Linked DNA regions of Homo sapiens: regions 1 and 3 are each linked to region 2. The links are contacts of gene promoters, found by promoter capture Hi-C in blood cells and fetal thymus (Javierre and others, 2016). All regions are on one chromosome and are shown on one strand. The core of a region is centred on a gene start or on the middle of the fragment in contact, and the rest is flanking DNA. Distances in the headings are between cores, read along the strand shown. Region 1 overlaps ELK3 (ETS transcription factor ELK3). Region 2 holds the start of HAL (histidine ammonia-lyase). Region 3 has its middle 20 kb from the start of USP44.

Region 1 (4,510 bases), core at 1,862-4,361, 260 kb before region 2:
TAACTGTGTGTGGTGGTACACGCCTGTAGTCCTAGCTATTTGGGATGCTGAAGCAAGAGAATCACTTGGACCCAGGAGGTGGAAATTGCAGTGAGCAGAGATCACACCACTGCACTCCAGCCTGGGCAACAGAGTGAGACTCTGTCTCAAAAAAAAAAAAAAAAAAAGTTTTTATCAGGCCCTATCCCAGACCTACTGAGTCAGAAACTCTGGGAGTGGGGCCCTGCAATCTTTATTTTAACTCACCCTCTAGGAGATTATTTTGCATGCTAACTTTGAGAACCATTGGTCTACAGTAGTGACTGAGGACTGAAGAAACGAGCGGATGCACGTATCCCAACTCCCAGAGATCCTGATAACGTGTCGAATCACTGTAGACATGAACCATCATTTCCTGTTGGGAGTGTTGGGCTGGAAAAGGTATCTAAGACAAGGAATCCCAAAGAACCCCCAGCCAATAGTGCTCCATTGCTTTCCTAGGAGGTTGCCAAGGCCTGCACCAATCAGGTGGCAGAATTCCCAGTAAGGAGAGAAATGAGAGGCCACTTATTATTCACAAATACCTACTGAACTCTACAGAAGCTCTGTGTTAGATTCTAGGATTAGAGTAGTATAACAATCCCTACTGCCATGGAGTTTACTGTAACCAAACAATTTCTTTCTATTCTATTAATTTTAGAATTCTGCTGCTCTAATCTTAAGACTTTCAGGAAATGAGGTGTTTTTATCTCTCCACCAAAAGATTAGTATTCCTAATTTTAAACTTTCCTAATACAACATTTGCTCATTGCTTTTTGCTATTTCTAGTTTCTCTTTTCCTACCCAAGCTGAAATTGTTAAAAATCAACATGACTATAGCTCAAGTTGTTGTGATGGGAATAAGGGCTGTGAAAGAGATAGAAACCCAATTACTCCAAGGATATGGTCACTTCATGACACCCTACCCTAACTCCACTAGGAAACCAAAGAAGCAAGATGGCAATCAAAACCTCTTTAGCTCCACCCTTACAAAGAGACCCTGAATCCCAGCATGTACAGCTCCTGGCACAGAGGAGGTACTCAGCAGACATTAACCTTGACAAGCAAAATGACCAGCTCAGATGATCATGAAGACTTGCTATTAATACTGGCCTTTCTCAGACTTCTCTTTGTGAATTCATTTAGACAGTCAATTATTACTGAGCCTCACTTGTGTACCAAGCCATGTGCCAGATGCTGGGGACACCACAGTGAACAGGATTCCATTCTGGTCTCGAGGGCCCATAGTTTAGTGAGAAAGATTGCCAGATCAACAGGCAATCATAATACAAAGTGCCACGTGCTAGATGAAATGGTATCCAAAGAGCTGCAACTAACTTGGGGTAAGCCACACTGTGGGGCACAGGATACAGGCAGGGACGATGAGAAAAGCTAGAATTTGGGAAAGAGGGAGTTTGCACTGGGTCCACCTTTTCTTCAGTCCTGTCCCTAGGATTCTTTCCACCTGCACTCAACATATTCAAACAGTAACACCTTAATCAGTGAGTAATGATCTATGGGTCTCAAGGAGGAAATACTGATTTCTCCATGATAGCAAGTGACGGTCCTGCAAGATTCTGGTGTGTGAATGAATAATGAAGGTGCTCGCCTAGTATGGAGAGTTCTATAAGATAAAGCAGCTAAGTCTTCATTATTTTTTAACCAAATGCCCTGGATTCTCCTTTTTCATTACAGAACAAGGAGAACTTAATGATGATTCATAAAATGATGCAAGTAATTTTTCTATCCCAGGATGGGGAAATTGTTCACTATTTTTATTTTCACTTTATGTCAAACAAGTTGCTACATTAACTAGGAGGATTAATATTTTAAAGTCTTTTGTGGACTTTTATAAATAATAATATTTATTTTCATTTTATTTTAAATATAGATGGGGTCTTGCTGTGTTGCCCAGGCTGGTCTCAAACTCCTGGGCTCAAACAATCCTCCCACCCTCAACCTCCCAAAGTGCTGGGATTACAGGTGTGAGCCATCACACTGGCCTAAAGAATAATTCTTAAAGTTTTGCCTTTTCCTTAATAAATTTCCTGTTTTCATAGACAAATGAAAATATGCAAAACACTTTAAGAACTAATTGTTCCACGTATGGGTGTCTGGCATGAGTCTGCAATTTCTGCCTCAATGAAAATGTCTGCCTCTGAAGGGCGTGCAACCCCACTAACATGAACCCCCTCTGGACATTTAATATTTCAACTCAACATATGGCAAAACTCACCGTTACCTCTGCAGGATTTAGAGAAAAAACCATCCCTCAGAAGCTTAATGTTCAAAAGTTCATTTCCAAACGCTCACCTGGAACAGCGTGCTTGGCCCTTGCAGCCTGGCAGGACTCAGCGGAGCAACTGGACTAAGGCTGCTCCAGAAATGTATGCTGGAGAGCAGTGGACTCGGAGTCAGAAGCAATCCATTTGGTGTCTGGGAAGTAAAGCAAACAGACTTCTTCATATAGGTTCACCTGACTTGGGCCATGATCAACAGAGCAGCAGAGAGAGGTTAGGTAGGCTAGGCATGGGCCAGGAAACGACCTTACCATCTCAGGAAAACTGGCAACGTTAATTCTGAGGGGCTGTGAACAGTTTAATTTTAATTTTCTTTTCTTTTGGAGACAGTCTCGCTCTGTCACCCAGGCTGGAGTGCAATGGCGCGATCTTGGTTCACTATAACCTCCACTTCCTGGGTTTAAGCGATTCTCCTGCCTCAGCCTCCCAAGCAGCTGGGATTACAGGCACCCACCACCGACTAATTTTTGTATTTTTAGTAGAGAAGGGGTTTCATTACGTTGGCCAGGCTGGTCTCGAACTCCTGACCTCAAGTGATCTGCCCACCTCAGCCTCCCAAAGTGCTGGGATTACAGGCGTGAGCCACCATACCTGGCTGGCTAGTTTTCTTCAATGCTAATTTTATTAACACTTTTTTCATAAAGGAAAAAGGTATTGACACATTACCTTCCCTAAACATTCTGGTGGAAAATTCAAGTTTGTATCAACTTTCGTCCGAATGGTTTGTTAACTTGTTCCCCTTCCCAGATTAAACAAGGATTAGTATACAAACAAAATAGGATCCCATAAAGGGGCTTTAATTCTTCTTATCTATATTTTCCTGTGTTTCTACAGTGGACATCTATTACTTGGGTTACGAACACACGTTTTTAAATGGTCTCCATATCAACAGCTGTTAAGGCTTTGGGATTTGCTGTTAAAATACCCTGTAGCAGCCTCTTCAGAAGCTCTGAGCCGGGTTTTCCAGATTCCTTCCGGATGTGGAGTTGATGAGAATTCATTGCCCTGGCAATGGTTTGGGTGGGGGCAGGGAGGGCCCTTTCTTGTCAGATTGGGTATAAAGCCAAAACCCTGGGTTTCCCAGGGGAGTTCCAAGGACTGAATTTCTTGCACACACACAGCAGGAGTCCTGGCCTGCAAGCCAGCAGGAGGGCAGAAGAAACACCCGCCCAGCTGCTAAGTCTGCATGGCTTTTATTCTCAGTGGAGACAAACTCCCCGGCCCAGGGTGGTTTTGTACCTTTGGTGACTAGAAGGAGTCCCTCAGTGGTTTTGTGATGTCAATAAGGTGCTTTGTGTAAGAAGAACCACAGCAAAGGCGCCAGCCTTTCAGACTGCACCATGCTGGATGCTAAAGTGTTATTTTTTCCTAGAATTGGCCTCCGTAGCATCATTAATTACCAACAGCATTTGGCTTAAACCTAAATTGAAAGGTCTGCTCTGTTCAGCAGAATGGAGACAAACATCCAAAGTTCCTCAAACTGTGAAGCTGCTGAAATGTAAACACATTTATACCAAATTATTTGAGTCGTTGGTTCCATGGCATTTCCTACATACTGAATGACCTATGAGGTTACTAGAATAAATACATGTTTTGAATAAGCTTCCCATTTGTTCTAGTCCAAGGCAATTTCACAAGCATGCCAGGCCATCTGGCCTAACAGTTAAAACTTCACGGCTCAGCATGAGCTCTGCCAGGGTTCCAATCTCAGAACCACTACTTCCCAGCCAGGTAACCTCAGGCAAGCCACCTAACCTCTCTCTGTCTCAGTTGCCTCATCTGTAAAATGGGGAGAATAAAAATGCCCACGTTACAGGGTTGTTGGGAAGATTAAATAAGCTGATCTACTGCAAGCTCTTATAAGATATGTGCCTGGCATATAGAAATGCTCAACAAGTGCCAGAGGCAGTTATCTGGCTAGGTACTTCATACATGTTTTTGAATGAATAAATGGATTGGTAATTAATTGAAAGTATACATGACATACTTACTAAACGTACTTCATCTATGTGAGGGAGAAATTCTCAACTGTATACAGAGAAGGACTTAATCCTCTGAAACAGACCAACTCAACTGAGTCAGCCTGGACTTGGAGGCTACTGTCAGTTGTGTTAGGCTCAAGGCCACAAGCTCAGGTGTTCTGAAAACTAATATTTGCATGTTACTCTGGAGCAAGGTTCCAACCTCAATAT
Region 2 (4,795 bases), core at 1,939-4,438:
AAATAACCCCTCAAAGTGCTAATGCAGTGACTAAAGTTACAATAGGAGTGAACACCCAAGGTGGGACAGGTATGGAAGAGACATATTCCTGCCTATTCCCGGAATCCTGACTTTTCCCTGGCTCTCACTCTCCCTAGCAGTTTTTGTTTTGTTTTGTTTTGAGACAGGGTCTCACTCTGTCGCCCAGGCTGGAGTGCAGTGGCATGACCATAGCTCACTGCAGCATCAGCCTCTGGGTTCAAGCCATCCTCCCACCTCAGCCTCTGGAGTAGCTGAGACTACAGGCATGCACCACCATGTCTGGCTAATTTTTGTTTTGTAGAGAAAGAGTTTGGCCATGTTGCCCAGGCTGGTCTCGAACTCCTGGGCTCAAGCAATCCACCCGCCTCGTTCTGTCCTCTTGGTCACTTATCTATGCTGCAGTGTGATTCTTTCTCCAGGCTCTGCTCTCCCTTGCCTTCCTTGCCAAGAATACAGAGAAGGGAGTTCAGCTCAAATCACTGGCATAAGATCATGTTCTAAGATTAGACTTTAGCAAATCCATTTACCCAAATACTGCTCTTTAAGGCTTCTGCCCTATGAGCTTACAAGACAAGCTGTAAGTTAATGTCGTTTTTAGTTATCACTTAGTGATACTGAAAGTGAATTGTGACAAGGGATGCTTGAAGGGTGGCATGGAAGGGTGCTGTGAAGAAGGTAGAGGGCGCTAAAGACAAACTTAATCCTGCTTGCTGGTTTACCTAGGGGCCAGCTCGGTGCAGTTCACATTTCTTCAGTTCAGCTAGTAAGCATATGCTAAATGTCTTTGTGCCAGATCGGATATATACATAATTATGGATGAACACAGACAAGTAATTTCCTAGATAATACTAAAGAAGAGCTATGCTAAGGCATCCCAGAGAAGGGCCACTTAACCCAACTGAAGAATTTAGGGAATGCTTCCTGGAGAAGAAAAGGCCTAAACAGGCTTAAGGAGTAAGAAAGATCTAGACAGGCAAAGGAAGTTGGAAAGTGCGTTTCTGGAGAAAGAATAACAAGGAAGACTCTGCTCCACAATGCGTAGGGCCTGAGTTTAGAATCCTCAAACTGCTGGGGGTGACTTACATGGCTGGGAGGTGGTATCACCTGGAAGCTCCTTCCCTCACTAGTCTGATGCCTGGGCTGAAATTACTCAGAAGCTGGTCTCGGCAGTGACAGTCAACTGGAGCATGCAGTAGTTTGGGTTGTTTTGCAGCATGAAGATAGTTAGACCTCTTATTAGTCATCTTTATACAGCTTTATCCATCACCAGACAGTAAGCCTCATGAATGTAGAGCGTGTTTGTTATTTATTTCATCCCCAGCACCTCGCATAGAGCTTGTTACATAACAGGTGTTGAAAAAATATTTGTTAAATGAGTCAAGGAATGAATGGGGGGGGGTGGGGCAGAAGGTTAAGGTGGTTCACATGTGCAGTCCTCAGTTTTCTCACAGATGTAGGAAGTAAGGTCTCCTTCTGAGAATTAGAGGTGGATGTCGAGAAGGTCCTGGCAGAGGGGTCAAAGTTTTGGAAAGTCACTGTGGGCTGGATGGAATAAAAGGGCAATACCATCAAACTATGTGATCACAGGACTTTCTCTATCAGTGTCTTCTGCCTGGGTGAACAGATATGACAGTTTCTTTTAATTTTAAACAGGGTCTTGCTCTCACCCAGGCTGGAGTACAGTGGTATAATCATAACTCATTGCAGCATTGACTGCCTAGGCTTAAGCAATCCTTCCAAGAGATGGCTGTTTTTTGTGATGACTAAGGGGATGGGTGTTATTCCAAGTGTAGACATAAGTTTAGGGATGCAAAGGAATCTCAGAGTGCTTAAGAAAGAGTGGTCCAGTGAGCGACTAGGGACCAGCTTCCTAGGATAGTAAGTGAGGATGCTGGTGGGAAGTGGAGGGATGAAGAGACTGACTGGAGGTCAGGTCCAAGGCTGGCAGTGACTAGAGTAAAAGGGCAGCTGGAAGGTTGTGGTCAGAAGGTGGAATATTGGAATTTCAGATTTCTTAAGTGTGTCAAATTCAGGTCGTGACAGATTCCAGGGTGATTTCTTAAGTGTGTCAAATTCAGGTCATGACAAATTCCAGGGTGCAGTCATGGTGTGGGTATCTGAAGAGCAAGTTTCAATAAGGCTCAAGGAAGGGTAGCTATTTGTACGCTTCCTGGGAAGCTGTCAGCAGATGAGAGGGACTCTGGGTATGAGTATAGGTGTTTTTCTTGAGCAACCATGTCTCTCTTCCCAACAGAAGTCTGATTTAGTGGAAACAGACTTTTCAGGATTTTTCTAGTGCAATAATCAAATCTCTAAAAATTGGCTTACGATGAAAGTGCTGCTTAGTCAAAATAGCATCTGCATATCTTTGATGCCGTAATCATGCTATCCAGAGTTCCTTAATACCAATGGTAATAAGGCGGGTGCAGGGAGCAGTTATCTGTGGTGAAGAAGCTTAATTGGGTGAGGGATATCCATGTGCCAAGATGAAAGAGCATTTATGGAACTTTATAGCTTTATGATTCATACAGAACATTTATAAAGCATTATAGTTACATGGAGTATTGGTGTCCAGATACTAGTAATCACAGACACTTCTATAATATTTCCACTATGCCAGGTGTTGTGTTGAGGGCTTTACATATATGAACTGACTTCATCCTCCCAATAGCCCTTTGACATATATACTATCATCATTACCATTATCTTCATTTTACAGATGAGGCAACTGAGGCCCAGAGAAGTCAAATCACTTGCCCACAAGTCATACACTTAGCAAATGGCAGAGCCAGGATTTGATCACAGGTAAATCCTGCACATACTGGAAGGAGGCAGTTAGCCCCTAGGCCTTCTGATAAGGAAATACAGGGTAATACTCACCTAATCAAGGCTAATAAGTAGTAGAGCTGGACTCTCATCCACGGCTGTCTGAGCCCCTAATCTCCAAGTCAGAGTGGTTCATTTGCCCAGATGACGACCTTTAGTTGTGAAAATGATCTCTGGCCTTTGCAGTCTTCCCTGGTGGAAAGAAAGCTTCAGAAAACCTTACTGGTGACAGGAAGTAGTTGCTCAATACATGTTTGTGGAATAAACAAATGAGTGACGATTGCCACACTCCCAGTGTCACAGTTGGCCCACAGAACACGTTTTACAGTTGAGTAATCTCAGATAAAGACAGGAACATGGTGTTTATAAGCTGCCCTTAATGGCAGAGAACACAGACAGAAACGAGGGAAGAGAGAGAAATTGGGGACCCTGAAGAAAGGGGGCCAGCAGCAGGTAGGTGCCATCAGGGACAAGAACAGCACCTCCCAGGGTGGGAGACCCCAGGCCTTTCTGGCAGCAGGTCTGGATGGAAAGTGGACAGGAGGCTCACCCGTCTGCATCCCCTGCTCCTGCCCCTGCTCGGCTACAAAAACCAAAGGGACAGCAGGTACCTCAATAAATATTTGTCCAATGCATGAATGAGTAAAGGTGAAGGAGGGGGAGTGGTTTGAAAGTCTATTCTCATCCTTCCAGCTGACCACACCCCGGTAGCCACTCCTGCATAAAGCTCTCCCCTCCTGTGACCAGCTGAGGACCTCAGGCTGCAGCGGAGCCATGCCCAGATACACGGTGCACGTACGTGGGGAATGGCTGGCAGTGCCCTGCCAGGACGCGCAGCTCACTGTGGGCTGGCTGGGCCGGGAGGCCGTGAGGCGCTATATCAAGAATAAGCCCGACAATGGTGGCTTCACCTCCGTGGATGACGCGCACTTCCTTGTGCGCCGGTGCAAGGGCCTGGGCCTGCTGGACAACGAGGACCGGCTCGAGGTGGCCCTAGAGAACAACGAGTTCGTGGAAGTGGGTGAGTGGCTGCAGGAGAGGGCCGCGAACGGGTGCGGTTTGGCCTGGCTTAGTCTTTGCAGCATTGAACCCCCACCTCAGGGAAAATGATGAGCAGAGGTCAGGCTTGCCGAGGCTGGCCCTGTGCAGGCACATGCCACGCCTCTGGGGATCTTAAGTCCTCACACAACCCTGTGAGATGGGTAGGATTCTCCTCCACCTCTGATGGAGGAGAAATCAGAGAGGAGGTAACTTACCCAGACTCCAGCAGCTAGTAAGTAACAAAGACTAGACTGGTACTCAAGGCTGCAGGTCTGAATCCCTTTGCAGTGACTGAATCATTTTGAGGTTATTTTGCCTTTCGAAAGAATCCACCCCCACCCCCAGACTGGAGGCCGGCAGCATAGCATCAGTTCAGATTTTGAAGAAAATAAAGCTGGGAATGGGGATGGAAGTGGAATTCTGTCTTGAACTTTCATCTAAACCCCTGGTCTCTGCCCTGACACCTACCTTTCTGCTTTTTGCTCTCCTCCTACATAAAGATGCTAAGACCACATGAAACCATCTGAAGCAGTTTTAAAGCAGCCATTTCTATAGAATTCATGGGCCAATGATGGGCCGTTCCTTGGTTTAACAGGGGGAACATGGCTGTACAATGTGATCTGTAACGAGTCTCCCGTGCATTGTTTTAGTTATAGAGGGTGATGCCATGTCTCCTGACTTCATTCCATCTCAACCAGAAGGAGTTTATCTGTATCCTTTCCCACAGGCTCTTTGGTCTGCTCTGGGGGTGGCTCCTGCAGATGGTGGGGCTGGGGGTTTTTCCACACCACCCTATATGTTCCTTTACCTGGATACAGATACAGCAAGTACCGGGAGCCTGAAAAGGTAAGCTTCAAACCACTTTCTTTTTCTTCAGAAAATTAAGGCCCCTTATTTAAGAGGGAGG
Region 3 (4,697 bases), core at 997-3,496, 420 kb after region 2:
AGAATAAATGATAATTGTCAGTAGTTAAGGCAGAAAACAAAAGGAAGATAAATGAGAATGGCTCACCAGGACCTGAAACCCCAAGCACTTGGGACAAATGGGGATCATTGACATAGAAAAAGGGGTGAGACCCCCCAGGGTGATGCAGATTTGTTTGAGGCTGGGTGACCAGCCCCAGAGATAGGAGTCCTCACTGGCCAGCCCTCCCCTCCCCGGCAGCCCAGCGCGAGCTCACAATTTCTCTTCCTTCCGATGGCAGTCGTCGGCTCCTAGGGAATTAAACTGATCAAAATGGAAAGCTTGGGGTGAGCAGAGCCTGCCACCACCCCGGAGCCTGATAGTTCAGAACAGTCTAAACTGAGTAGACAGGCAACGCTGAAGGGAAAGAGAATTCGGGGAACTGCGATGTATTTCTGTTCCTTTAGAAATGGAAGGTTTGGGCTTTAATGTGATCTCAAGCCATTTGGGGGAAGTTTGGAGTTTAGAATGATTTGAAGAATAAAGGCCTTGTTTTTGACTGACTGTTATTTCAGATCTTACCCATCTATCAATTAAATCTGACTTATTAACAGTATCTGGCAAAAATTCTGTCCGTTTGAGGATGGTGTGTGGTATTCTTGTACCTAACTATTCTCCTTAACCTTTTGGGAAAATGACCATATCCGTTTGTCTTAGCACTGGGCCCCCTCAGGACTTGCAAGGCTTTTTTTTTTTTTTTTTTTTTTTTTTTTTTTTTTTTTTTTTTTTTGAGCCAGAGTCTCGTCTCACTCTGTCACCCAGGCTTGAGTGCAATGAAGCAATCTTGGCTCACTGCAACTTCCGGGTTCAAGCGATTGTCCTGCTTCAGCCTCCTGAGTAGCTGGGATTACAGGCGCACACCACCATGCCAGGCTAATTTTTGTATTTTTAGTAGAGACGAGGTTTCACCATGTTGGCCAGGCTGGTCTTGAACTCCTGACCTCATGATCCCCCCGCCCTGGCCTCCCAAAGTGCTGGGATTACAGGTGTGAGCTTCTGCGCCCGGCCAAGGACTTGCAGGGCTTAAGGAGAGAATTGTGTTTTCTATTATGTCTTAAAAGCCAGCAAACTGTAAATCCTAGAGAGGAATCATTTTCAGGAAACTAGAGATGTAGTCCAGCCTTGGAGTAGCTTGCCATCCATACAGTCTTAAAGGTACTATCAATTTCTTTTTAAATCAAAGCATCAAACAGGCACCACTGTTTGTAAGGACTTGGGGAAAAATGAGCCCAATTGATACTTCTTTTCAAGCAAGTAACATCTAGCAAACTACACAAGCAAATAGGAACAAAATCAAGACAACATAAAACTGATTCCAGCTCCAAAACTAGTTCTGTGGCCTTCTGAAGTTTCTTACCTTTACCACAAATATTCCATGTGATCAGACACGCAGCATATTACAGTGAAAAGAGCAAGGACTTAAAGCCAAGGCATTCATCCCATGGGAATTTTTAGTTCTAATGCCACTGTAGCCACTTTCTAGCTGAGTGATTTTAAAGAGTTATCTAACCACAGATTCCTCATCTGTAAAATGGGGATAATAAAATCTAACTTGTAAGGATTAGGAACATTGTAGATGTCCAACAAATGGGGTGTGTGCATGTGTATATGCATAAATTACCTCAGCCTCCCTCTGAGATGAGAGAGTGAGATAAAACACAATGTACTAGCCCAGGCACAGTGGCTCATATATGTAATCACAGCACTTTGGGAGGTTGAGGCAGGAGGATCGCTTGAGCCCAGGAGCTGCAGACCAGCCTGAGCAACATGGAGAAACTCTGTTCCTACAAAAAATTCAAAAATTAGCTGGGCATGGTGATGGGCCACTGTGGTCCTAGCTACTCAGGAGGCTTTGTCTTTAGATTGCTTAATCTTCATTTGTTTTTATTATAACAAAAATAAGCTTTGTTTAGAAGTCCCTTGGACAGCCAGGTGCAGTGGCTCACACCTGTAATCCCAGCACTTTGGGAGGCTGGGGAGGGAGGATCGCTTGAGGCAGGAGTTCAAGATTAGCCAGGGCAACCTAACAAGACCCCATCTCTACAAAAATTTAAAAACAAAATAGCAGGGCATGGTGGGGCTCCCGTGTAATCCCAGACACTCAGGAGGCTGGGGTGGGAAGATCACTTGAGCCCAGGAGTGTGAGGCTACAGTGAGCTGTGATGGTACCACTGCACTGCAGCCTGGGTGACAGAGCAAAACCCTCTATCTGGAAAAACAAAAAGATTCTTGGTTGGTGATGTTTCCTCAGAAATCAAATCCACTTCTGACCCTAAGCTGCATAAGACATATGCAGGGGAGACAAGGAGAAAGTCGTTTGTTCAATGCAGACTTGGAGGGCAAACATAGGCCCAGAGGGTAAATATCACAATGAAGCAAATTTTGGTTTTCTCTAAAGGAGAAATTTCTAGTAACAGGAGGAGGTTACTAAGTCACCAAATCCTGGAGGAAACAGCTCTGCCTTGGTATCAGGAAGCTAAGTAACCCACTGTGGCTCAGTCATTTCACCCTCAACTTCAACTTTCCCAACTGCAAAATTCAGACTAAAGCTTTTATCTTTACTGTTTTGGGTGCCAGTGCTTACCAGGACACTTCCTGTATCACTGAGTCTACAGAAGAAATTGATATATGACCATCAATACATTTCACATCAAATAAAGATAGAGGAAATGATGATACAGTTCAGATCAGGAAGAGGAAGTAAAACCTTGTTTATAAACCAGTTGATCCCCACCTGCATCCTTATAATGAGTAGTGTAGAGAACACATACATCTCGGTCTCTTTTTTACATTTTTTTTTTAGAGATAGGGTCTCACTCTGCCACCCAGCTGGAGTGCAATGGTGCAATCTTAGCTCACTGCAGCCTTGATCTCCCAGGCTCAAGCGATCCTCCCATCTCAACCTCTCAAGTAGCTGGGACTACAGGCGTGCCACCATGTTCAGCTTTTTTTTTTTTTTTTTTTTTTTTTTTTTTTTTTTTTTTTTTTTTTTTTTTTTTTATGTTTAGTAGAGACGAGGTCTTGCTATGTTGCCCAGGCTGGTCTCAAACTTCTAAACTCAAGCAATCCTCTTGCCTGGGCCTCCAAAGTGCTGAGACTACAAGCATGAGCTACCATGCCCAGTGAGAGCATATACATTTCTCTTTCTCCCTGAGCCCTTTCTCATCTGTTATTCTGCTCATTCTCCAAGGTCATCAGTTAAGAAGTAAATTATGGTAGAAGAGATTCTATAAATTATGATAGAAGAACATCTCAATCAATTTGGACACCTTAACATGTAAGTCAGGCCGGGTGTGGTAGCTCATGCCTGTAATCCCAGCACTTTGGGAGGCCGAGGCGGGCGGATCATGAGGTCAGGGGTTCGAGACCAGCCTGACCAACATGGTGAAACCCCGTCTCTACTAAAAATACAAAAATTAGCTGGGCGTGGTGGTGGGCGCCTGTAATCCCAGCTACTCAGGAGGCTGAGGCAGGAGAATTGCTTGAACCCGGGAGGCAGAGATTGCAGTGAGCCGAGATCGCGCCACTGCACTCCAGCCTGGGCGACAGAGCGAGACTCGTCTCAAAAAACAAAACAAAACAAAACAAAACAAAACAAAAAACCCATTATTTTCACAAGTAGATACATTGGGGGGTGAGAAGTTGTAATAACTATTCCACAAAAAAGTCACTTTCATGCCATCTATAAGGTAAACTATAAAAGAACAATGGCTGGTCATGAGAAGACTTGCTTTCTAATTCCAGATCTGATGCTTGCTGTGTGGCTTCAGACAAGTCACTTAATACTATAATTTCCTCAGCTATATAATGCTAAGTATGAAGAAAGAGGATCTGTATGAAAATCCTTTGCGAGGTAGAAATTGCTCTGCAATGAAAAACATCATTACTAATGCATAATTCTTCTTTTCCTCATTCCATTTATATTGGAATAATGCCATTAATATATCTTTGGGATAACTCATATTTCTCTCTTCCCTCCATTGATTTATTCATGAAATGACTGAAGGCATTTTGGTAGATAAAGAAAAGACAAGTGACAATAACCTGTTACAGGATTAAAGCCAAATGGCTGTGTAAAAAAGGGTACATTAAATGATCAAATCAAAGACTATACATTTGCTATTTGTAAGACAAATACTGCATCTTTATGGGTTTTCAGATCCATCAGTTAAATAACAAAGTAGTGGTATAACATACTCAAGAGGTTTAATATAACATTAAATGAAGGCTGACAACCATGAAAACCATTTATCATTGTATTTAAACCACTAATTTCAGATTAAATTTAAAACACTTAATTCCTAATTGTTAGCACTGACATGCCAACAAAAATCTTAAGGAAATATTTTGTAGCTAGATCACACCATTGTTACACATTTGCTTGAGAAAACAAAGTATGTATGTAATTAAAGTATGTAACTAAATCCTACCTTATCATTATGGTGCCTTCAATAAGATCCACTCTGCCAAAAATTGAACAATTTATAATACATAGTTTAATTGGAAATTTTTATTGTCATCTGTCAAATTCTGAGACTATACTTTTTGATGTAGTGTATGTGGTTAGAGCATTCTCTGAATAAATCCAAGGTTGCATGGCCATTCTTACAGGAGCCACTTAACTTGAAAAGGGAGAAAAAAAAATCAGTGGCATATCACAACTTGCTATCTAGCCACCT

What was found. Contacts are between HindIII fragments. The CHiCAGO score rates a contact against its expected background, and 5 or more counts as called.
Region 1: a contact is called between a fragment that was not itself captured here and the fragment with the promoter of HAL in region 2, in 1 of 17 cell types (monocytes). The highest score is 5.8, in monocytes.
Region 3: a contact is called between a fragment that was not itself captured here and the fragment with the promoter of HAL in region 2, in 1 of 17 cell types (endothelial precursors). The highest score is 5.4, in endothelial precursors.

The regions. Positions count from the first base shown.
Region 1 is chr12:96,257,675-96,262,184 of GRCh38, reverse strand. It overlaps ELK3 (ETS transcription factor ELK3), which reads right to left. Exons shown (of 5, transcript NM_005230.4): 4 at 2,332-2,454. Among named protein-coding and RNA genes, the nearest start is that of ELK3, 66 kb to the right of the region's middle. The HindIII fragment of the contact is 1,623 bases long and covers 2,300-3,922 here.
Region 2 is chr12:95,994,737-95,999,531 of GRCh38, reverse strand. HAL (histidine ammonia-lyase) reads left to right here and starts at 3,188. Exons shown (of 21, transcript NM_002108.4): 1 at 3,188-3,454; 2 at 3,541-3,868; 3 at 4,539-4,599; 4 at 4,707-4,734. The coding sequence starts at 3,622. LOC102723340 (a long non-coding RNA gene) reads right to left here and starts at 3,050. Exons shown (of 4, transcript XR_945237.4): 1 at 2,902-3,050; 2 at 1,105-1,201. RefSeq lists enhancers at 781-840, 1,287-1,581, 2,806-2,975. The HindIII fragment of the contact is 1,685 bases long and covers 3,057-4,741 here.
Region 3 is chr12:95,569,600-95,574,296 of GRCh38, reverse strand. No RefSeq gene overlaps it. Among named protein-coding and RNA genes, the nearest start is that of USP44, 20 kb to the right of the region's middle. RefSeq lists an enhancer at 43-172. The HindIII fragment of the contact is 646 bases long and covers 1,924-2,569 here.